Regions from separate parts of the Homo sapiens genome. Here regions 1, 2 and 3 are each linked to region 4. Evidence: promoter capture Hi-C in human tissues and cell types (Jung and others, 2019). All regions are on one chromosome and are shown on one strand. Each heading gives the region's core, a stretch centred on a gene start or on the middle of the fragment in contact. The rest is flanking DNA. Distances are from core to core; before and after follow the strand shown.

What was found. Contacts are between HindIII fragments. The study calls those that stand out against the background at their distance.
Region 1: a contact is called between the fragment with the promoter of DLK2 here and the fragment with the promoter of PPP2R5D in region 4, in 1 of the 25 tissues and cell types used here (IMR-90 fibroblasts).
Region 2: a contact is called between a fragment that was not itself captured here and the fragment with the promoter of PPP2R5D in region 4, in 1 of the 25 tissues and cell types used here (stomach).
Region 3: a fragment that was not itself captured here is called in contact with the fragment with the promoter of PPP2R5D in region 4 in 1 of the 25 tissues and cell types used here (pancreas).

The regions. Positions count from the first base shown.
Region 1 is chr6:43,452,409-43,457,606 of GRCh38, reverse strand. It overlaps DLK2 (delta like non-canonical Notch ligand 2), which reads left to right and starts at 2,059. Exons shown (of 6, transcript NM_023932.4): 1 at 2,059-2,212; 2 at 2,727-2,857; 3 at 3,133-3,196; 4 at 4,472-4,602. The coding sequence starts at 2,782. RefSeq lists enhancers at 561-1,402, 3,031-3,080 and silencers at 2,001-2,240, 2,341-2,390, 2,421-2,500. The HindIII fragment of the contact is 12,339 bases long and covers 1-5,198 here.
Region 2 is chr6:42,612,584-42,618,006 of GRCh38, reverse strand. It overlaps UBR2 (ubiquitin protein ligase E3 component n-recognin 2), which reads right to left. Exons shown (of 47, transcript NM_001363705.2): 9 at 2,829-2,936; 10 at 1,917-2,005; 11 at 500-598. Among named protein-coding and RNA genes, the nearest start is that of UBR2, 51 kb to the right of the region's middle. The HindIII fragment of the contact is 5,356 bases long and covers 817-5,423 here.
Region 3 is chr6:43,373,051-43,378,250 of GRCh38, reverse strand. No RefSeq gene overlaps it. Among named protein-coding and RNA genes, the nearest start is that of ZNF318, 6.0 kb to the right of the region's middle. RefSeq lists an enhancer at 1,351-1,570. The HindIII fragment of the contact is 7,073 bases long and covers 1-5,200 here.
Region 4 is chr6:42,981,004-42,986,622 of GRCh38, reverse strand. PPP2R5D (protein phosphatase 2 regulatory subunit B'delta) reads right to left here and starts at 2,053. Exons shown (of 16, transcript NM_006245.4): 1 at 1,919-2,053. The coding sequence starts at 1,945. LOC124900215 (a long non-coding RNA gene) reads left to right here and starts at 2,309. Exons shown (of 2, transcript XR_007059580.1): 1 at 2,309-2,791. RefSeq lists silencers at 1,695-1,844, 1,935-2,004, 5,183-5,401 and an enhancer at 2,155-2,274. The HindIII fragment of the contact is 19,136 bases long and covers 1-3,611 here.

The DNA.
Region 1 (5,198 bases), core at 810-3,309, 470 kb before region 4:
AGGTCAGGAAATCAAGACCATCCTGGCTACCATGGTGAAACCCCGTCTTTACTAAAAATACAAAAAAAAATTAGCCGGGCGGGGTGGTGGGCGCCTGTAGTCCCAGCTACTTGGGACGTTGAGGCAGGAGAATGGCGTGAACCTGGGAGGCGGAGCTTGCAGAGAGCCGAGATAGCGCCACTGCACTCCAGCTTGGGCCACAAAGCGAGACTCCGTCTCAAAAAAAAAAAAAAAAAAAAAAAAAAAAGTGTTAATGCTGAAAAGTATTAATAAGAAAAAAAAAAAAACCTCTATAATTCGATCATCCAGAGAAAAGCACTGCCAATGTCAAAGTACGTTCTTCTTTGTTTCCGGCTTCCCCCCACCGCACTTTACATATTCTTAGCTTTTTTGGACATCTTTAGACGTCAAAAAAAAAAAAAAGTATTTTTAACAGTCACATAGTGTTGATGTGCCATAATTTATTTGCCTACAGTAATTTTTGAATTATAGGTTGTTTGCAATTTTTCACCAAAAAAAAAAATGTGTTTAAACAAAATGAATGGTACAGCCATGTCATTACTCAAATTCAGAGAGCTCTTCAGGGAAGAGGCGATCACAGCTGAGAGGAGGCCAGCTAGGGAGCTGAGTGGGTGTAAGTGTTATATCCAATGGAGACTGCAGGAAAAATGAGCCCTGGGGCTCTGTGCCTGTGGAGGTGGCTGTGTGAAGGTGGGAAGCTGCTCTGCCCCGACTAGCGACTGCTCCTTCCGATGTTTTGAATTTAAAGATGGTGAAATCTCAATCTGAAGGACTAGAGATGGGCGCTAGCGTTCCTGACCTCTGCCCTGTTGTCCTGCACAAACTAGAAATTATGTTCTGGGTCCTTGTCTTTTTTTGGGGGGGGGCGGGGGTCGGAGTTTTGCTCTGTCCCCCAAGCTGGAGTGCAGTGGCGCGATCTTGGCTAACTGCAACGTCTGCCTCCCGGGTTTTCAAGCGATTTTCCTGCCTCAGCCTTCCGAGTAGCTGGGATTACAGGCGCGCACCACCACGCCTGGCTAATTTCTGTATTTTTAATAGAGACGGGTTTCACCATGTTGGCCAGGCTGGTCTCGAACTCCTGACCTCAGGTGATCCGCCCGCCTCAGCCTCCCAAAGTGCTGGAATTATAGGCGTGAGCCCACCGAGCTTGGCTGGGTCCTTGTCTTGAAATGTGTCTCTGAGCCATTAGCCAGAAGGGGGCAAAGAGGCCTGGAGGGCAGCTTTCCCCCACTCCCCCTCCGTTACTCTCTGAATCTGAGCTCCAGGTTTGGGCAGTTGAGGTTTAGCCTGAGGCCAAGGACGAACGTGATGGGGTACAGGAGAAGACTTGGCGGTGGAGGGGGTTTTGTGTGCACATTTACAGAGTCAGGGGCATTCCCAGTCCAGAAAGGATTCTCAGAGGCAGTCACAAAAAGGAATGGGGTGGAAGGGCTGAGACTTGAGGGAGGGAAGGGTGGTGGGGGTAGGGCCGGGGTGTGGTTGGGTGGATCGGGTTGATATTTATATAGGGATAGGTTGATCTTGGAAGGCTGGAGACGGCAACGTGGACAGGAAGAAGCGGAGGGCGAGGAGGAGCAGAGGAGCACACAGATGAAGCAGGTGATGAAGGCTTTACAAGCGGGGAGGCGTGGGCTGGTGACAGGCGGAGGGCGGGGAGCGATTGCCTGCGTGTGCATAGATCTATATGAGAAGCGTGATGAGCGGCGGACAAGCGAAGGCAGGGCTGGGGCGTGGGCCGCGGAGCGCTGGTCGGGAAAGTGGGCATGGGAGATGAGAGAATAACGGGGTTGCGCTCCTTTGGCTTAATAGTTTGCTCCCATTGAGACTCCTAAGATTTCCTCCTCTCTTGGAAGGAAGCTGGGTTCGGGGCGTTGGGTAGCCGCGGAGGGCCGGGGCCCCGGGGCGCGCCGGGTGCTAGGTGTGCGCCGTGCGTCGCGGGGGGGGGGATGGGGGTGGGGGCGGGCTCCGCCCCTGGCAGGGGGCCTGAGCGCGCGCGAGGAGCAGCCGCTGCCGCCGCTCGGGGTCGCCTGGAGCCCCAGATTCCCGAGCGCTCGGCTCGCATGGCAGCCGCTTCGGCGCCCGGCCCCGCGGCCAGCTAGGGGCGGCCCCGCGCTCCCTCACGGCCCCTCGGCGGCGCCCGTCGGATCCGGCCTCTCTCTGCGCCCCGGGGCGCGCCACCTCCCCGCCGGAGGTGAGGACTGCGGGGACAGGGCGCGGTGGGGATTCCAGGCCCCGCGCCGCCGCCGAACCCAGCGCGGCGGAGATAGAAAGGGGACGTGGGAGAGAGTGGTGGTGGCGGGGGGGGGGGCTGTCGGAGCTGTGGGGCGGAGACTGCTCGCTGCCGGGAACCGTCCTTCCCTCCGGCCCCCGCGTCCCCTCCGTGCTCGAGGCCGCCTCTCGGCGCTGTCCCCATCCCGCGGACCCCTCCGTCCTGACTACGATCCCAACCCCAGCCATTCCCGCGCCTGGCCTCGCTCCGCGATGCCCATCTTTCCCCTCCTTGCAGACCCCGCTCCCGGGTTCCTGTCTTCGCTCTCCTCGCTCTCTTCGCCTGCTCAACCCTTCCCTGCCCCCATCCTCCCGCTACCCCCATCCCCTTCTTCTGTCCCGGCGCCCCTCTCCCTCGTCGGCTCCTGTCACTTGGAACCCGTATCCGTGCCGCTATCTCCGCGTCCGGCCGCCTCCCAACCGGTGCCGTCCCACAGGTGTCCACGCGTCCGGCCGTCCATCCGTCCGTCCCTCCTGGGGCCGGCGCTGACCATGCCCAGCGGCTGCCGCTGCCTGCATCTCGTGTGCCTGTTGTGCATTCTGGGGGCTCCCGGTCAGCCTGTCCGAGGTGAGCGCGCCCGCTGGGCTCCAGTCGCGGCCCTGTCCAGCCGTCCTCGCTTGCACGTTGACCTCTGCCGGCCGGAGGCGGCACTGCAGTCGCTCCGACCCGCGGGGCAAGCAAGACCGAGGTTGCCTTTTTGGAATGGGATGAGTTTCTGTGTTATGTCCTGCCCTAGGGTTGAGTCCGCTCAGTTACTGGAACCCCAATCCTCTCCTGAGTCCCGCATCCCAGCGAGCTGTGCCCTGACTCAGACTCACCCCTCCCACATCAATCTCTTGCAGCCGATGACTGCAGCTCCCACTGTGACCTGGCCCACGGCTGCTGTGCACCTGACGGCTCCTGCAGGTACCTGTCCTGAGCACGTGCCCCCAAACCCTTTGGTACCCATTTCTAAGCCCTTCACGTGCACAACAGTGTCTAGGGGCTTCAGACTCTACTCTTCATGCCTCATCACTCCTATGGCTGACTGGCCAGTCCCCCTTTCCCCTTTACCTCACCTCTCTTGCTTCTTCTAGTTTTTATCTCCCCACTTCTTTAATCTCCCAAGTCTGATCCAGGGATTGTCTGAACTCCTGACAGGGAGAGAGACCTAAAGCTTGAGAGAGCTTGGGGATTGGGTGCCATGAGGAAATGGAAAGATAAAGGAAAAAGGGAAAGAGAAATGGTTTAGCCTGGAAAAGAAATGCTGCAGGGAGAGTTGCTGGGGAGAAACACTTACAATGAAAGAGGATCTTTCTTGATGAGTTTGAGTAGTTGACTCACTGGGAGATTGGGCAAATTCTGTAGCAGGAGGAAAGTGGACATAAGGAAATGAGTTGATGAGGCAGGTAGTTCAATTGGCTGGGGGTCTTTGAGACTCTTCACCCCTGGAGGGCTTTTAAAATATGGGTCAAGTGTTTGCCCTGGAATCATGGTGGGAGGATAGTCCTGATGACCTTTTTTGTTTTTATTTTTATTTTTTGTTTTTGAGACAGAGTCTCGCTTTGTTGCCAAGGCTGGAGTGCAGTGGCGCGATCTCAGCTCACTGCAGCCTCTGCCTCTTGTGTTCAAGTTCCCCTGCCTCAGCCTCCTCAATAATGGATTACAGATGCACACCACCATGCCCGGGTAATTTTTTGTATTTTTTGTAGAGACGGGGTTTCACCCAGTTGGCCAGGCTGGTCTTGAACTCCTGACCTCAAGTGATCCACCTGCCTCGACCTCCCAAAGTGCTGGGATTACAGGCGTGAGCAACCACGCCCCGGCCCTGATGGCCTTTCAAGGTCATTCTTCTTTAAATGTTTGTGAGCACCTCAGACATGCCAGGAGGGGTACTGGAGGCATTTACAGACATCTTATTTCTTCCTCTACTCAACCCTGCAAGGTGTATCCCCAATTTACAGGTGAGAAAACTGAGGCTCAGGTTAAAGTACAGAACCAGGGTTTGAGTGCTGGTGTCTGATGGTCTGATTCCGTATATGTGTCCTATGACCCTGCACAGTCCTACACCTACCTGGGACAGGTCTGCTTTCCCTTAGGGGCTGTCATATGTCCTCTTGGTTTCTAGAAGCTCTGGTTCTGTCTCCTCCATTTCTTCACATCCATGACCCAGAGCCCTGACCCTGTGCTTCTCCCCGTCAGGTGTGACCCGGGCTGGGAGGGGCTGCACTGTGAGCGCTGTGTGAGGATGCCTGGCTGCCAGCACGGTACCTGCCACCAGCCATGGCAGTGCATCTGCCACAGTGGCTGGGCAGGCAAGTTCTGTGACAAAGGTAGGGGGGAGGAAGGGTAGCTTTTGGTTGGGAACCCCATGTTCTTAGGGGAACAGCCATCAGTATTTATTGAGTGCCTATTTTGTCCTTGTCAAACCCTCAAATACATGGTATTTTATCATTTTTTTAAATCTTAGACTTTTTATATGTTGTCTGAATTGATCCTCAACATAACCCCATGGGGCAGGAAACACAGCTGCTAAAAATTGTACTCATTTTACAGATGAGGAAACTAAGGCCCACAGAAGAGCTATAACCTGCTCAAAGTCAGGTTTTTTTGTTTGTTTTGTTTTGAGATGGAGTCTCACTCTGTCACCCAGGCTGGAGTGCAGTGGTGCGATCTCGGCTCACTGTAACCTCCGCCTCCTGGGTTCAAGTGATTCTCGTGCCTCAGCCTCCCCAGTAGCTGGAATTACAGGCACCCGCCACTTCAGCTAATTTTTGTATTTTTAGTAGAGATAGGGTTTCACCATGTTGGCCAGGCTGGTCTCGAACTCCTGACCTCAAGTGATCCACCCGCCTTGGCCTCCCAAAGTGCTGGAATTATAGGCATGAGCCACTGTACCGGCCTAATGTTTGTATTTTTAGTAGAGATG
Region 2 (5,423 bases), core at 2,245-4,744, 370 kb after region 4:
ATATAGCGTTAAAACATAACGATGCCTTTATGGGCAACTCGTGAAGCTCAGTAAAAGACCATCCAATCATCAGGATTCAATTGCCTTAGCTACATCTCCCCTTTTGGGAGGGAGGTGGGAGGAGGACTTCTCAAATTGTGAGACGGTGTACAATATGCTGTCTAATTCTAACGTGAAGGATAATTTGTGAAATCAATCGGCTTAATGTGAACTAATCAGTTCAAAATCTCAGGGAAGTACTATGAAAAATTGTAGATTGTTTCCCTCTCCTTTACTCTGAAGAGAAAGTATAAATTAAGTTTAAATGACTTCCCCCCTACCAGATGACTTTGATATTCAAGGTTATATTCTAGTAAAAGAATAGTGAAGGTGTTTGAAGTCTGATTACCCATTAATAAAATACTATTCTTTTCAGGAATATACAGACTTTAGTTCTCTATTATTTTAAGGCCTCTGTTAATGGAAAACAAGAAAGTTCTTCTAGTCTTTCAGTACTTACAAGTGAAGGAACCGTGAATATCTGAACCGAGAGGTCTGCGACTGAAAACTCTCTGTCGTGGTCATCTGTCACATAATCACTCTGCAAACGCTCATAGTTCTATTAAGAAGGCAAAAAAAGGCAAGGAGTGCCAGCTATCAGTTACAAAGAAAAGGCAAGCACTACTCACCAGAGTAGGTGCGGTGAAGAACTGGACAGATAGAGCAGTCACCGACACTGCTCGCTCGTGATCATCCTCCATAAAATCTCTCTGCAACTGCTGGTAATTCTAAACAACAAGGGGGAGATTCACCTCTAATCCACAATGACCAAATGTTTAAGGATTATAATGAAAAGTCAGTGCTGGAGGAAGTCAAGAAGATAACACTGCTATGAGAACAATAACTGGAATGATTTCTACCAATAGAATCCTGTATAGATATTGATTCACTATGGAAACTGTGGAATCCTGTATAAATATCGATTCTTTCTTCTGGAGCACAATGGCAGTTTACCAGCCCAAATAGGCAGTAACAGCTACTAAGCTCCCAAGATGTCATTGTATGCTGGTGGAGCTAAACCACAGCAGCATTACACTGTTTCTGATGAAATCAGACTTTCATTACTTCTGCATCATATCAGAATCATCTGATGACTCTTCCAAAGCATACATGCTTGGGCCGCCATTCTTGGTGAATCTGTTTCAGTAGATTTGAGAATGGAACACAACACATGTATTTTGAAAGAGCTCTCCAAGTGATTCTCATATACTTCGTAATTCAGGTGAATGCAAAAAAATAAGTGGTTAGCTTATGCACATGCTGCTAAAAGGGAGAACTTAACTATATTAATAACCTAGAGTTCTGAAGAGACCTTGTTTCTTAAAAAAAAAAAAAGCAAAATACATGTTTTCCTTAGCATGAAATATTTGCAATCTATTTATAAAATCAAAGTTTTCTAAATATAATTTTCTAACAAAATATACAGGCTATTTAATTTGGATCATGCCCCCCCTCCAAAAAAAAATCTATTTTTTTTTAAAGACTAAGACTGCAATGCTAATTTTAAAATGCACAAATATATTTATTAAATCATATTCATATATATGTCATTTAAACTGAGATTAGTTTCCTTATATGAATTTTAATAGAAAAAAATACCATAATTCACAATGGCATAGGTTTAAACTCTTCATTTATTATTTCATAAACATTGTATAATAGATACTCATGTTATAGGAGGTGATGAACAAGGAGTCTCACGGCTAAAATTTTATTCTATTGATAAAGAATGAAAAGATTATTTATGAAGTTTCTTAGAATTTAATATCAACACATTGACATATTACTATTAGATGTTAATTTTTTGAAGCCTAGATATAATTATGGGCATAGTTACTCTATATATAACCTATTTTCAAAATTGAAAAGCCACTTACTTTTGCAAATCGAACAGCAAATAGTTTCTTGTATTTCAAATCCATAAGCAGACTGCTCATGAACAACTGATGATATACACTCCTAGCACCTTGTAGAAAAAGATCACGGTATAAGATAAGGACACGCCCAACAATTACATTTCTCAAGTGTTATGTGATCCACAGTGGGTTTTTTTTGTTTTGTTTTGTTTTTACTTTTGAGACAGTGTCTTGCTGTGTTGCCCAGGCTGGTCTTAACTCCTGGGCTCACGCGATCCTCCTGCCTTGGCCTCCCACAGTGCTGGCATTACAAATGTGAACCACCATGCCCAGCCAACACAGCATTTTTTTTTTTTTTTAGGGTCTTGCTTTGTTGCCCAGGCTGAACTCAAACTCCTAGCTCAAGTGATCCTCTTGCCTCAGCCTCCTGTGTAGCTGAGACTACAGGCACACACCACTGAGACTGGCTTGTATTTTAAGTCTCAAAAACAAAGAAAGCCATACATGGTGGTATGTACATGTAGTCCCAGCTACTAGGGAGGCTGAGAAGGGAGGATTGCTTGAGTCCAAGAGTTGGAGGCTGCAGTGATCAATGATCATGCCACTGCACTCCTGTTGCCTGGGCAACAGAGTGAGATCCTGTCCCTTCAAAAAAGGAGCAAAATACATATTTTCCTTAGCACAAAATATTTGCAATTTGTTTATAAAACCAAGTTTTCTAAACATAATTCTGTAACAAAATATAAAGTCCATTTAAGTTGGATCATGGACCCCACCCCACCAAATCTATATTTTTCAAAGACTAAGACTGCAATGCTAATTTTAAGAAGCACAAATATATGTATTAAATATCTTCCCAAATGATAAAAACCTTTCACATCCCAATTACTTATATAGGTTCCTCTACACCTTAAAAGTAGTTAAGAGATTCACCTTTCCATAATTTGGAATCACTAAGCATCAGTCTGTCCACTAGAGAAGAGTTTTCACCATCTGGCCCTTCTTGTAAACCAACTTGACATAAAATCCGGCGAAGGCCATCTTTAAATAGAAGGAAAGGTAGAATGAGATAGCAACTTCAAATATTAAAATAGTGACATTTTAGTAGATGTTCAAATGGATCTGTAGAGTTTTAAATGTTTTCTTAAAGTTCAAATTTATTCAGAAAAGGCAAACATATTAACTGTTTTATTAATATTTTAACAAAAAGGAAATAAATTTCAAATCTCACATCACACACCATTACTCCTGAAAGTCAAAATATATGCCTATCATAAAGGCAATAACCTCTTGTGCTTTAATGAATTTAATTAAAGAGAAAAACATCCAAAAAACCACTTAATATTGTTCTTCAAGCACTTATGCTAATTAAACCAGATTACAGTGAAAGTGTTATACATTCCATAATTGAAATATAAAATGTGCTACCATTTAAAAGGAGGAATGCATGACTTCTGCATTATAATATATAGCAATGCATTTTATTAATGCTACAGAAAAAATTCTTCATTCATTAAACAAAAACTTATTGTGGACTTGGCATGTGAGACCCTGGAAAACATATTACTACAACCTTTTAAATGTAAACTTCAGAAACGTTCTTCAAATATTAATATAAGCATTAAAATAACCAAAGCTTTAACACTTATTTGTTCCATACATATATATGTACGTACATACATATATATGTACGTACGTACATACATACGTATGTATGTACGTACATACATATATACACACATACACACATATATACACACATACATACACACATACACATATACACATATATACATACCCATATACGCACATATATGTACATGCATACATATATATGTACGTGTGTGTGTATATATATGTGCGCGCGTGTGTGTGTGTGTGTGTGTGTGTGTGTATATATATATAGTTTTTTTTTTTTTTTTTTTTTTTTTTTTGGAGACAGAGTCTTACTCTGTCACCCAGGCTGCAGTGCGGTGATGTGATCTTGGCTCACTGCAACCTCTGCCTCCTGGGTTCACGCAATTCCTGTGCCTCAGCCTCCCAAGTACCTGGGATTACAGGCATGCACCACCACGCCTGGCTAATTTTTGTATTTTTAGTACAGACGGGGTTTCACACCATGTTGGCCAGGCTGGTCTTGAACTCTTGGGCTCAAGTGACCCACTTGCCTTAGCCTCTCAAAGTGCTGGGATTACCAGCATGAGCCACTGCACCTGGCCCCATACTTCATAATTTAAATCACTGTTTTCATCTTTTTCAAGCATGCAAAATTAAAAAAAAAATGGAATAACTTTCAATTATAAAAGCTGTCAAACAGAAATCCTTTAAAAGGCTAAAGACCTATGTAAGTATTAAATAGCAATATATAAATTATTAATGATTAATATCTCAAAGAAAATTTTCAGCAGGACATTACTTCCATTATACTCTTCAGTAATACTGTAGCACAACACTTGGCATGCAGGTATCCAATGGAAAACACCAAAATAAAGAACATAGGACTAAGAAAAATAACTGTAAAGATATTTATTTTCTTTTAAAAAAAATTTTAGATAGAGATGGGGTCTCCCTATATTACCCAGGCTGGTCTATGAACTCCTGGGCTCGAGGGATCGTCCCACCACAGCCTCCCAGAGTGTTATGACTAGAGGAGTGGGCCACCGTGTCAGCCTGGAAAGATAACTTTTAAATTATCTTTTAAAGTAAACGCGTTCTCTTAATCTTCCACACCTTCATATTTTCAACTCTCAGTTCTGTGTAGTAATGCTCTTTTCTAAAAGCCCTTCAATACAAATGTATTCAAATTTTTCTTTACAGTAAACATCTGAATGTCACTTATCCACAGTGTTGCCTGAAGAATAGCATAACAGCTTATATCTATCCCTGTTTTACCCTTTAGTGTTACACACCAGGCTTGTATTTTTGGTTGCAGATGTGAGGATTCTTAATTCTTACCATTACATAAAGAGAAAAATGACCGAATTTCTAGACTCTGGAATTTTTTTTTTTTTGAAACAGAGTTTCACTCTTTTGCCCAGGCTGGAGCAAAGTGGCGTGATGTTGGCTCACTGCAACCTCTGCTTCCTGGGTTCAAGTGATTCTCCTGCCTCAGCCTCCTGAGTAGCTGGGATTACAGGAACATGCCACCACGCCTGGCTAATTTTTGTATTTTTAGTAGAGATGAGGTTTTGCCATGTTGGTCAGGCTGGTCTTGAACTCCTGACCTCAGGTTATCCACCCACCTTGGCCTCCCAAAGTGCTAGGATTACAGGCATGAGCCATGGCACCTGGCCAAAAATTTTTTAAAAACGCAAATTGGTAACTTCCAATTTACAAATTTTCAGTGTTGCAAATTATTGGTAACCAAAGTTGTTGGAGTCAAATCACATAAATCAACATTAGTGTTTTATCGTTTAAACAGCTAATCACTTAGGTTTTTATTTACAGCAGCATTTTTCCAGCTTACTCAGTAGAAGAGTTCTGCAAAATGCTCCACTAAAAAAAGTTTAAAAAAAAATTGTTTGTGAA
Region 3 (5,200 bases), core at 1,548-4,047, 390 kb before region 4:
TATAATGTTTAATATGCTGGACGTGGTCAACCTCTGCATACCTCTTCAGCTTCATTTCTCACTATTCTCCTTTCTTTCTGCCCTCTGGTCACACTGGCCTTCTGTCTGGTCAATCAGATCACCAGGGTTTCTCCTGCCACAGGGCTTTGTGTACAGCTCAGCTTTCTAAACCTTACACCAGTAATGTTTACAGGTATGTCAAGAAGTGATTCCTGTCTACCCTGGGATGAGAACAGGTGGGGACTGGGTAAGTGGCTGGTGTAAACAGAGGACAAGGACAGTGAAAAGGGTAACTGTTAGGAAGTACTAGATTAGGTGTCCCTCTGCCTACCAGGCTTTATGCTCTACTACCTCCTACTTATTTTCAGATCTCAGCTCAAATACCGCTTCTCAGGGAAGTCCTGCCTAATCTCTCTGACCATGGCAGATCTTAATACATGTCTCAGATCACCCAGGACCTTTCCTTCAAAACCTTGAACATTTCCATAATATTGCTGTTAGATTTATTTTTATTTCATTTTATTTATTTTTATTTTGTTATTTTTTTTTTTGAGACAGGGTCTCACTCTTGCCCAGGCTGTAGTGTAGTGGTGCTATCATAGCTTGCTGCAGCCTTGAACTCCTGGGCTCAAGTGATCCTCCTGCCTCAGCCTCCCAAGTAGCTATGACTACAGGCATGCACCACCACACCTGGCTATTTTGTTGTTGTTGTTGTTTAGTACAGATGGAGTTTTGTTATATTGCCCAGGCTGGTCTCGAACTCCTGAGCTGAAGCGATCCCCCTACTTCGGCCTCCCAAAGTGTTGGGATTAAAGGCATGAGCCATTGTGCCTGGCCAGTATTTATTTGTTTTTTAATAAGCTGGTAAGATGTACATTCGTGTTTTGTGTGATTACGGTATTATGATTATAATACCATATTATTATAGTAATATAATACTATATATTAGTATATAGTATGTACTAGTTATAAAATAGAAACCATGGTGATCTGGGGGACCAGACAAAAAGCATTTGGATGTGAAACATCCACATATGAATTAACTGCCTGCATTCAGGGTTTCTCCAAATTCAAGGTTAAAAAGGGTTATTAGTGCCTCATAGAATAAAGGTAGGGGCTATACCAAAAGCAATTTTTATTCTCTAGGGTTGTGTATTAGCTATCTGCATAGCAAATTACTCCCAGGTTGGCAGCCTAAAACAAGCACTTTTATCTCACAGTTTCTGAGGATGAGGACTATGGAAGTGATTTGCTAGATGGTCCTGGCTCAGGGTCTCTCAAGAAGATGCACTCAAGATATTGGCTTGGGCCGCAGTCATCTGAAGGCTTGATATACTTGAGTATCTGCTTGTGAGATGACTCACCCACATGGCTGTTGCCTGGAGGCCTCAATTCCTTGCTTCTGTTGTCAGGAGACCTCAGTTTCTCACTACATGGGGTTTTCCATAGGGTTGCTCAACATGGCAGGTGTTTTCCCCCAAAATCATATGATCCCAGAGAGAGAAAGTGTGCTCAAAATGGAAGCCACAATGGCTTTAATAACCTAATCTTGGACATGATACATATCACCTCTGTCATATTCTATTGGTCACACAGACCAACCTTTGTACAATATGGGAGGAGCCCATACCAGGGAGTGAATACCAAGAGACAGGGATCATTAGGGGCCATTTTGGTGGCTGACTAGCATATCTGAGAAACAAATTGCTTGTTAGCACACAGATAGTGCTATTCAAGCTTCACATTTCTTAGGATACAGGTTTGTCTTCTGTCTCTAGCTCTTTTAATTGTGAAAAATTACATGTATACATAAAAGTATATAAAAATAAATGTACAGAATGGGTGTGGTGGCTCACGCCTGCAATCCTAGCACTTTGGGAGGCCGAGGTGGGCGGATGACCTGAGGTCAGGAGTTCAAGACCAGCCTGGCCAACATGGTGAAACCCTGTCTCTACTAAAACTACAAAAATTAGCCAGGTGTGGTGGCACATGCCTGTAATCCCAGCTACTCAGGAGGGTGAGGCAGGAGAAGCACTTGAACCCAGGAGGCAGAGGCTGCAGTGAGCCGAGATCGTACCATTGCACTCCAGCCTGAGCTACAGAGCAAGACTCCATCTCTAAATAAATAAATAAATAAATAAATAAATAAATAAATAAATGTACAGCTAACTGAATTATTAAAAAGCTAGTATCTGTGGAAAAACAACCACCCAGATTAATATATGGAACGAGCTCAATACCCCAGAAGCTCCTCCCATTGTTCTGTCTAATTACAATGCCCTCTCTTCCATCCTCAGGGTGACCACCATGCTGATTTTTATGGTTTTTAGCTTCATTTTCTTTATAGTGGTTTACCACTAAGAATGCACTCCTATCCACTGTAGTTTAGTTTTGACAATTTAGCCGGGTATGGTGGTAATCCCAGCACTTTGGGAGGCTGAGGCAGGAGGACTGCTTGAGGCCAGGAGTTCAACACCAGTCTAGGCAACATAGTTAACCCTGTCTTGAAAAAAAAAAAGAAAAAAGAAAAAAAATTATCCGAGTACGATAACACATGCCTGTAGTCCTACCTACTTGGAGGTTGAGGCAGGAGGATCCCTTGAGTCAAAGAGTTTGGGACTGCAGTGAACCATGATTGGGACACATCACTCTAGACTGGGTGACAGAGAGAGACCCTGTCTCAAAACAAAACCAAAACAAAACAAAAAAGCTATATAAATGGAATTATGCAATGTATTGTTTTGCATCTATTTTCTTTAACTCAACATTATGTTTTTCAGATTCATTTATGTTGTTGAGTGAAGCAGTCTGTTAATTTTCAATGCTGAATAGTATGCCATTGTATAAACATCCCCAAATTTATTCATTTTACTGTTGTAGAATATGTGGACTTTTTTTAGTATTTGGCAATTACAGAGAAAGCTGCTGTGAACGTTCTTGTACGTAACTGCTGGTATACCTTGTATGCATTTCTGTAGGATATATACTTAGGAACAAAATTGTGTAGTCATTTTCAACTTTAGTAGAAATGCCAACCTGTTTTCCAGAGTGGTGGCACTGATTTACACAGTGTAGAAGAATGTCCCTTGTTCTACACCCTCACCAATATCTGCAATGTTAACTATGTTGGTGTGAAGTGCTATTTTGTTATGGTTTTAATTTACATTTTCACGATTGAGGTTTCATATATTTAGTAATCATTTGAATATCCTCTTTTGAGCACTTTTTTTTTTTTTTTTTTTTGAGATGGAATCTTGTTCTGTCACTGAGGCTGGAGTGCAGTGGCACGATCTCGGCTCACTGCAATCTCCACCTCCCGGGTTCAAGTGATTCTCCTGCCTTAGCCTCCTAAGTAGCTGGGATTACAGGCACCCACCACCACCCCTGGCCAATTTTTTGGTATTTTTTAGTAGAGATGGGGTTTCACCATGTTGGTCAGGCTGGTCTCGAACTCCTGACCTCAAGTGATCCACCTGTCTCAGCCTCTCATAGTGCTGGGATTACAGACGTGAGCCACTGCGCCTGGCCAGAGCTTTTTTTTTTTTGTTTTTTGAGACAGAGGTTATGGATGTAATAGTGATACATGCATGATTGAATCCACCATGTTTAACAGAAAATCATATTTTCTCTCTTCTTCCTTTTCCAGAGACAGGGTCTTGCTTTGTTGTCCAGGCTAACCTCGGGCTCCTGGGCTCAGGTGAAAACTCCTGCCTTAGTCTCCTGAGTAGCTGGGATTATAGGTACCTGCCACTGTGTCCAGCAGAAAAATCATATTTTCTTTTCTTTTTTTGAGGTGGAGTCTCACTGTGTCACCCAGGCTGGAATGCAGTGGCAAGATCTCGACTCACTGCAACCTCCGCCTCCCAGATTCAAGCGATTCTCCTGCCTCAGCCTCCTGAGTAGCTGGGACTACAAGCGTGCTAAGGTAGCCAGACTACCATGCCCAGCTAATTTTTGTATTTTTAGTAGAGACAGAGTTTCACTATGTTGGCCAGGCTAGTCTTGAACTCCTGACCTCAAGTGATCCGCCTGCCTCGGCCTCCCACAGTGTTGGGATTACAGGTGTGAACCACTGCGCCTGGCCAGACTCATATTTTCTTTCTTTCCTTTTTTTTTTGAGATAGAGTCTCCTTTGTCACCCAGGCTGGAGTGTAGTGGTGTGATCTCGGCTCACTGAAAACTCTGCCTCCCGGGTTCAAGCTATTCTCCTGCCTTAGCCTCCTGAGTAGCTGGGATTACAGGCACCCGCCACCATGCCTGGCTAATTTTTTTATTTTTAGTAGAGATGGGGTTTCGCCATGTTGACCAGGCTGGTCTCGAACTCCCGACCTCAGGTGATCTGCCTGCCTCAGCCTCCCAGAGTGCTGGCATTAACAGGCATGAGCCACCACAGCTGGCCTCAGAATCGTATTTTCTAATTAGTTATTACTGGTGTATAGGTAATATTGGTAATATTAGGATATTACCATTCCAGTCACTGAGCAGGGAGTGTCTAGGCTCAGTTCTTGTTTAAAGGCTGTCAATATTTTTATCTTCCCACCCACATGGCACATTCCCATGAAACTTAGCCCCAAGCAGAAGGCTGGCAGTAATTTGTTCAGCTCGCATGTAGGGACAGGCATGTCCTTGGCTTTAAGCTAAAAATCTGTCCCAGGTCCTCCACCTCCTGAGGAGCACTTACATTTCCATTATCTCACAGGAGCCAAATCTCTAACTGCTACCCTTGATTCTAGACTCATTTCAAAGCCCATGAGGTCCATGGGGAGGTGGTTATCTCGTTTCAGAGTGTATTAGCTGTTTTGAGCTGCTGTAACAAAATACCGTAAGGCTGGGTGGCTTCAACAACACGTGCTTATTTCTTACAGTTCTAGAGGCTGGAATGTCCAAGACCAAGGTGCTAGCCAATTTAGTTCCTGGTGAGTGCTCTCTTCCTGGTTTGTAGACACTGCCTTCTCACTGTGTGCTTGCATAGCAGAGAGAGGGCATGGGTGTCTCTTCCTCTCTTTATAAAGACACTATCATCATGGGGGCCCTACCCTCATGACCTCATCTGACCCTAATTACCTCCCAAAGGACTCTTCTCCAAATAGCATCACATTGGGGGTTAGGGCTTTAACAAATGAATTTGGAGTAGTGGTGGGGGAAACACAATTCAGTCCATAGCATACATCCTAGTCTCCTTACTTTTCTCTTTTAAGGT
Region 4 (5,619 bases), core at 804-3,303:
AACCACCTCCGCATGCCCACTCCCCAAGGACAGGGCCTGGGTGGGGCACAAAACCCTGTCCAGCTCACTACTCCCAGGAGGCTCACTATCTAGTACACCATCACCAACCCTGTACTTAGAACCTCAGGCCCTGAAAGGTTAAGGGGACAACTCAGAATCAGAGCTGCCTGGCAAATACAGAACAGCCCCAGGAGAAAAAGTTTGATTGAAAAGGTCAGAGATGGCAGCCCAGTAACCCAGCCAATCAGAGGGCAAATGAAAGCAATATACCTCTGGGGTCATCGAGCAGGTGGCCAGAACACCAGGCCAGAGCCAACCCCCACCAAAAAGGGCCAGCCCCAGGAGAGGAGAAGCTGGGGGAGGCTGGAACTGGTATCCTAGCATCCTATGTGTGAGTCTGTACCTCAAAGGAACCACACCTCTGAGTCAGACCTCAGCAACAGCAGGAAACAGAGGGTAGAAAAAGGCACGGATGAGGAGCAGGGGAAGGCAGCACCGAGGTAGATGAGGAAGGTGAAAGAAGGCAACATTAAGAACTGGCCTGTGGGCCAGGCACGGTGGCTCACACCTGTAATCCCAGCACTTTGGGAGGCCGAGGGGGTCAGATCACCTGAGGTCAGGAGTTCAAGACCAGCCTGATCAACATGGAGAAACCCCGTCTCTACTAAAAATACAAAATTAGCCGGATGTGGTGGCGCATGCCTGTAATTCCAGCTACTTGGGAGGCTGAGGCAGGAGAATCGCTTGAAGCTAGAAGGCAGAGGTTGTGGTGAGCCGAGATCGCGCCATTGCACTCCAGCCTGGGCAACAAGAGCAAAATTCCATCTCAAAAAAAAAAAAAAAAAAAGAAATGGCCTGTGTCAGGACATCATGATAAAGACATGGGTGTTCAGGGGTGGCTGGCCTGCAGGCTAAGAAGGAACAATAATCTGACAGTGAGGACAAATTCCCAATTTGAAGATGGTGTAGCTTAGGAAAGGCAGAAATCCAGCACTGGTGCGAAAAGAAAAAAAAAAAGGAAAAATGCAAAGGTTATCCTAGGATTAAGAATAAGGGTGAGGAGCCTACTCAGATTAGGAAAGGTGACTGGTCTAGGATGCACTTGGGTGACAGTTAGGAGGGCTTTGATACAAAAGAGGCCTTTAAGTCAGGAGACCTGATATTGCAGCTGGGCCTCCAGCAGGCTGTGTGACCTTGGACAAGTCCCTTGCCCTGTCGGGGCCTCAGTCTCCTCATCTGTACCATTAGGGATTGCACTGCATGCGCTCAGAGGTCCCTTCCAGCACCAACGTTGTGAGGTTCCATCAACAGAAGGGCTCAGTCCTGCTTACAAGTTTGTGTGTGAAGGAAGAACTAGAGGGAGGGGCCTAGGCCAGATTTGGGTGGAGGAGAGAGAAAGCAGCGCTGTTCTAGGTCAGGGGCTTGGCATGGAAAGAGAAGGGGCCGTAGGGGACTGCGGGGCGGCTGTCCCAGGCGGGTAGGAAGAGGAGACAAGGGGCTGCTCAGGGCGGGGCGAGGGGGCAATTCTGGAGGAAGGTGCAGTTTCAGATGAGGGGCTGCCCAAACCGAAGGGGGATCGGGGCCAGGGGTGATGGGGGGGACAGAAAAAGCAGGACAGTGACCTGGGAATGGGGCAGATCTGGAAGAAGGAGGTTACCCTGGGCCGGGGGTAAGAGAAGGGAAGAAGGGAGGGAGGTGTATGTGGGGGGAGTCTCTCCGGGGCAAGGTGGGGGAGCTGTCCTAGCTGCGGCACAAGCTGGGGGTGCTGCCAGCCGCGGGGGCGGAGGGCTGGCCCCAGGAGTCCTGCGGGGGCTGGACGGGAGGGTCAGTCTGGGGCTGTCCCGGGCCTGGCTCCGGCCCCTCCCAGAGCTCCGCGCAGGCTCCAAGGCGGCGGTGGGGGAAAAAGGGCCACGCTCACCTTCTCCTTTTTCAGTTTATAGGGCATCTCGGCCCGTCCGGACCCGGCCCGTCTCCTGCGGCCCCGCTCCGGCTCCGGCTTTGCTCGGCCGCACTCGGCCCGCTCGGCGTCTCTTCGCCACCGCCTGCGCGCTGCGCCCGGGTCGAGCGGTGCCTGCGCCTCCAATTGGCCCGAACTCCTACAAAACTGCCTGACAACCAGGCGCCGCCTCCTCGGATTGGTCATTGGAGCCAAGCTGCTTCCTTTTTTTCTTATTGGAAAGAAATAGTACAAACCGCCAGGGTTCGGCTTCCAGAATTGGCTGAAGTGGGTGGTCCCGCCCTAAAGTGGGTCGAGCTTAGAGAAGGAGGCGGGGATAAGGGGAAACCCAAGCTTGGCTAGGAGGGCTGCACTCCAGCGTCTGCTGTGCGTCGGCCTCGGCCATTCTTCGCGGCGCTTGGAGCCCTGCTCTTTCCTTCTAAAGGCTCTCACACTTTGCCCGCTCTGCTACCCTGTCCAGTCGGAATTGGAGGAAGGAAGCCCTAATACGGAGGGCACCTTTCTTCACTGGGGTAAAGTAGCCCTAATTGCAGATGCAAAATTGATGGAGGGAGCTCCCAAGGACCTTCCAAGACACCCGCCTCCCTAGACAGGGGTTGCAGAGGAGCAAAGGGGAAGCCTGGCAGGGCTAGGACCTGGGCGAAATGAGTGGAGAATCCCTGGCTTGGTGCAACTTTAGGAAGAGGGTCCCCGTTGCTACTGCAAGTGTACTGGGATTGGGGAACCAGCTAGATTTGAGCAGTTGGGAACGCAGTGGAAAAGCAACTTCATTGTTGACTGTCTCAGGAAATCCATCCCTTACTTGCCACCCTGCTCAAGTCCGTGTTCTAATGGGTAAGACTCAGTTTATGCCCACAAAGAGTTCGCAGTCTGGTGAATCACAGATGTGTATAAACAAAGGATTAAGAGAGAATGTAAACCAGGCAGGCACGGTGTCTCACGCCTGTAATCCCAACACTTTGGGAGGCTGAGGCAGGAGGATCACCTGAGGTCAGAGGTTCGAGACCAGCCTGGCCAACATGGCGAAACCCCGTCTCTATTAAAAATACAAAAATTAGCTGGGTGTGGTGGTGCACGCCTGTAATCCCAGCTACTCGGGAGGCTGAGGCAGGAGAATCACTTGAACCCGGGAGACGGAGGTTGCAGTGAGCCGAGATCACACCACTGCACTCCAGCCTGGGCGACAGAGCAAGACTCTGTCTCAAAACAGCAACAATGACGACAAAAAGAATAAACCTGTGGCCAGGCTCGGTGGCTCACGCCTGTAGTCCCAACACTTTGGGAGACCAAAGTGGGCAGATCACGAGGTCAGGAGTTTGAGACCAGCCTGACCATAGTGGTGAAACCCCATTTCTACTAAAAATACAAAAATTAGACAGGGTGCGGTGGCTCACGCCTGTAATCCCAGCACTTTGGGAGGCCGAGGTGGGCGGATCACGAGTCAAGAGATCGAGGCCATCCCGGCCAACATGGTGAAACCATGCCTCTATGAAAAATACAAAAATTAGCGGGGCGTGGTGGCGCGCGCCTGTAGTCCCAGCTACTCGGGAGACTGAAGCAGGAGAATCACTTGAACCCGGTAGGAGGCTGAGGCAGGAGAATTACTTGACCCCGGTAGGTGGAGGTTGCAGTGAGCCGAGATCATGCCACTGCGCTCCAGCCTGGGCGACAGAGCAAGACTCCGTCTACAAAAAAAAAAGAAGAAACCTGTGATGCAAAGGCATGAGAATGATACAATGGAGGCCGGGCGCGGTGGCTCACGCCCGTAATCCCAGCACTTTAGGAGGCCGAGGCGGGCGGATCACGAGGTCAGGAGATCGAGACCATCCTGGATAACACGATGAAACCCCGTCTCTACTAAAATAATACAAAAAAATAGCCGGGCGTGGTGGCAGGCGCCTGTAGTCCCAGCTACCCGGGAGGCTGAGGCAGGAGAATGGCGTGAACCCGGGAGGCAGAGGTTGCAGTGAGCCTAGATCATGCCACTGCACTCCAGCCTGGGCGACAGAGCAAGACTCCGTCTCAAAAAAAAAAAAAAATACTACACATTGGGTACAGTATACACTGCTTGGGTGATGGCTGCATCAAAATCTCATAAATCACCACTAAAGAACTTATTCATGTACAAAAAATAAATTTTTAAAATTCTATATAAAATAAAATATTTAGTCTTAAAAAAAAAAAAGGTCAGGCGCAGTGGCTCACGCCTGTAATCCCAGCACTTTGGGAGACTGAGGAGGGCGGATCACCTGAGGTCAGGAGTTCAGGACCAGCCTGGCCAACATGGCAAAACCCCGTCTCTACAAAAATACAAAAATTAGCCAGGCATGACGGTGGGTGCCTGTAATCCCAGCTACTCAGGAGGCTGAGGCAGGATAATCCATTGAACCCGGGAGGTGGAGTTTGCAGTGAGCCGAGATCGCACCATTGCATTCCAGCCTGGGCGACAGGGCAAGACTCCATCTGAAAAAAAAAAAAAAAAACACAAAACCTGTGTCCCTTACCCAGGTACCCAGGAGAGCAATGTTACAAGACAGTGGCCGTGGGGATGGAGAAGAGAGGATGGAGCATGAAAATGTGTAGAATCAACAGGATATGGTGATTCATTGTATTGTGGGGGGGACGGTAACGGAAAGGGAAGAGTTGAGGATGATTTCTGGAAGTGATCAGAGTTGTAGGAGGACAACTGGTGTCATAATGGCAAAGGAAATAAAAGACAATTGGTCAGTAGTGTCAGAGAAAGAACAGCATCATCTTGATTCTGCAATTAGAAGATTATGGGTGATTTTTTCAGAGAGTGGAAGACCGTTTTTAGTGAGTGGAAGAGTGAGCATCAAGAGGTGAGGAAGTGAAGATGGCAAATGTAGGGTCCTGGCGATCTTACAGAAGTAGTATTTGGCTTTCGGTGACTAATGACGATTTCAGGGTAACACAAAGTGGACTACATGCCCGCTGTTACCTGCTGGGAGAAAAGCTTGGGAGAAAAGGACATTTATTTGTGGGTGGGTATTTGTGTCTGTATGAGTGCTGATCCAGGCAAGATAACTGATGTTTTTACCCATCTCCAAGGCCTCAAGGAGCACTATAGTCCTGAGGCCTAGAGCTTGCCTGCTACTGAGGAAAGCAGGCATATCCTCTTTAGGCCCATGTACCATCTATCTAGCCCTTGGTTCCTCTGGGACATAGGGGACCAAGAAACATATAGTAGCACTACCAAATGGGAACTTTCATCCATGTGAATCTAGGTACCTAGAACATTCTTTATTTAGTTTTTTTTTCTTTTAATTTTATATATTTTAAGAGACAAGGTCTTGCTCTGTCACCCACTTGGAGTGCAGTGGCACAATCATAGCCTCAAATTCCTGGGTTCAAGTGATCCTTCTGCCTCAGCCTCCCCATAGCTGGGATTATAGACACAAGCCATGGTTCCTGGTTAGTACATTCTTGCATGCTATTTTATTTATTTTTTTCTATTATTTATTTTTTTGAGACGGAATCTCACTCTGTCACCCAGGCTGGAGTGCAGTGGCGCAGTCTCGGCTCACTGCAAGCTCTGTCTCCCGGCTTCACGCCATTCTCCTGCCTCAGCCTCCCGAGTAGCTGGGACTACAGGCACACACCACCATACCCAGCTAATTTTTGTATTTTTAGTAGAGACGGGG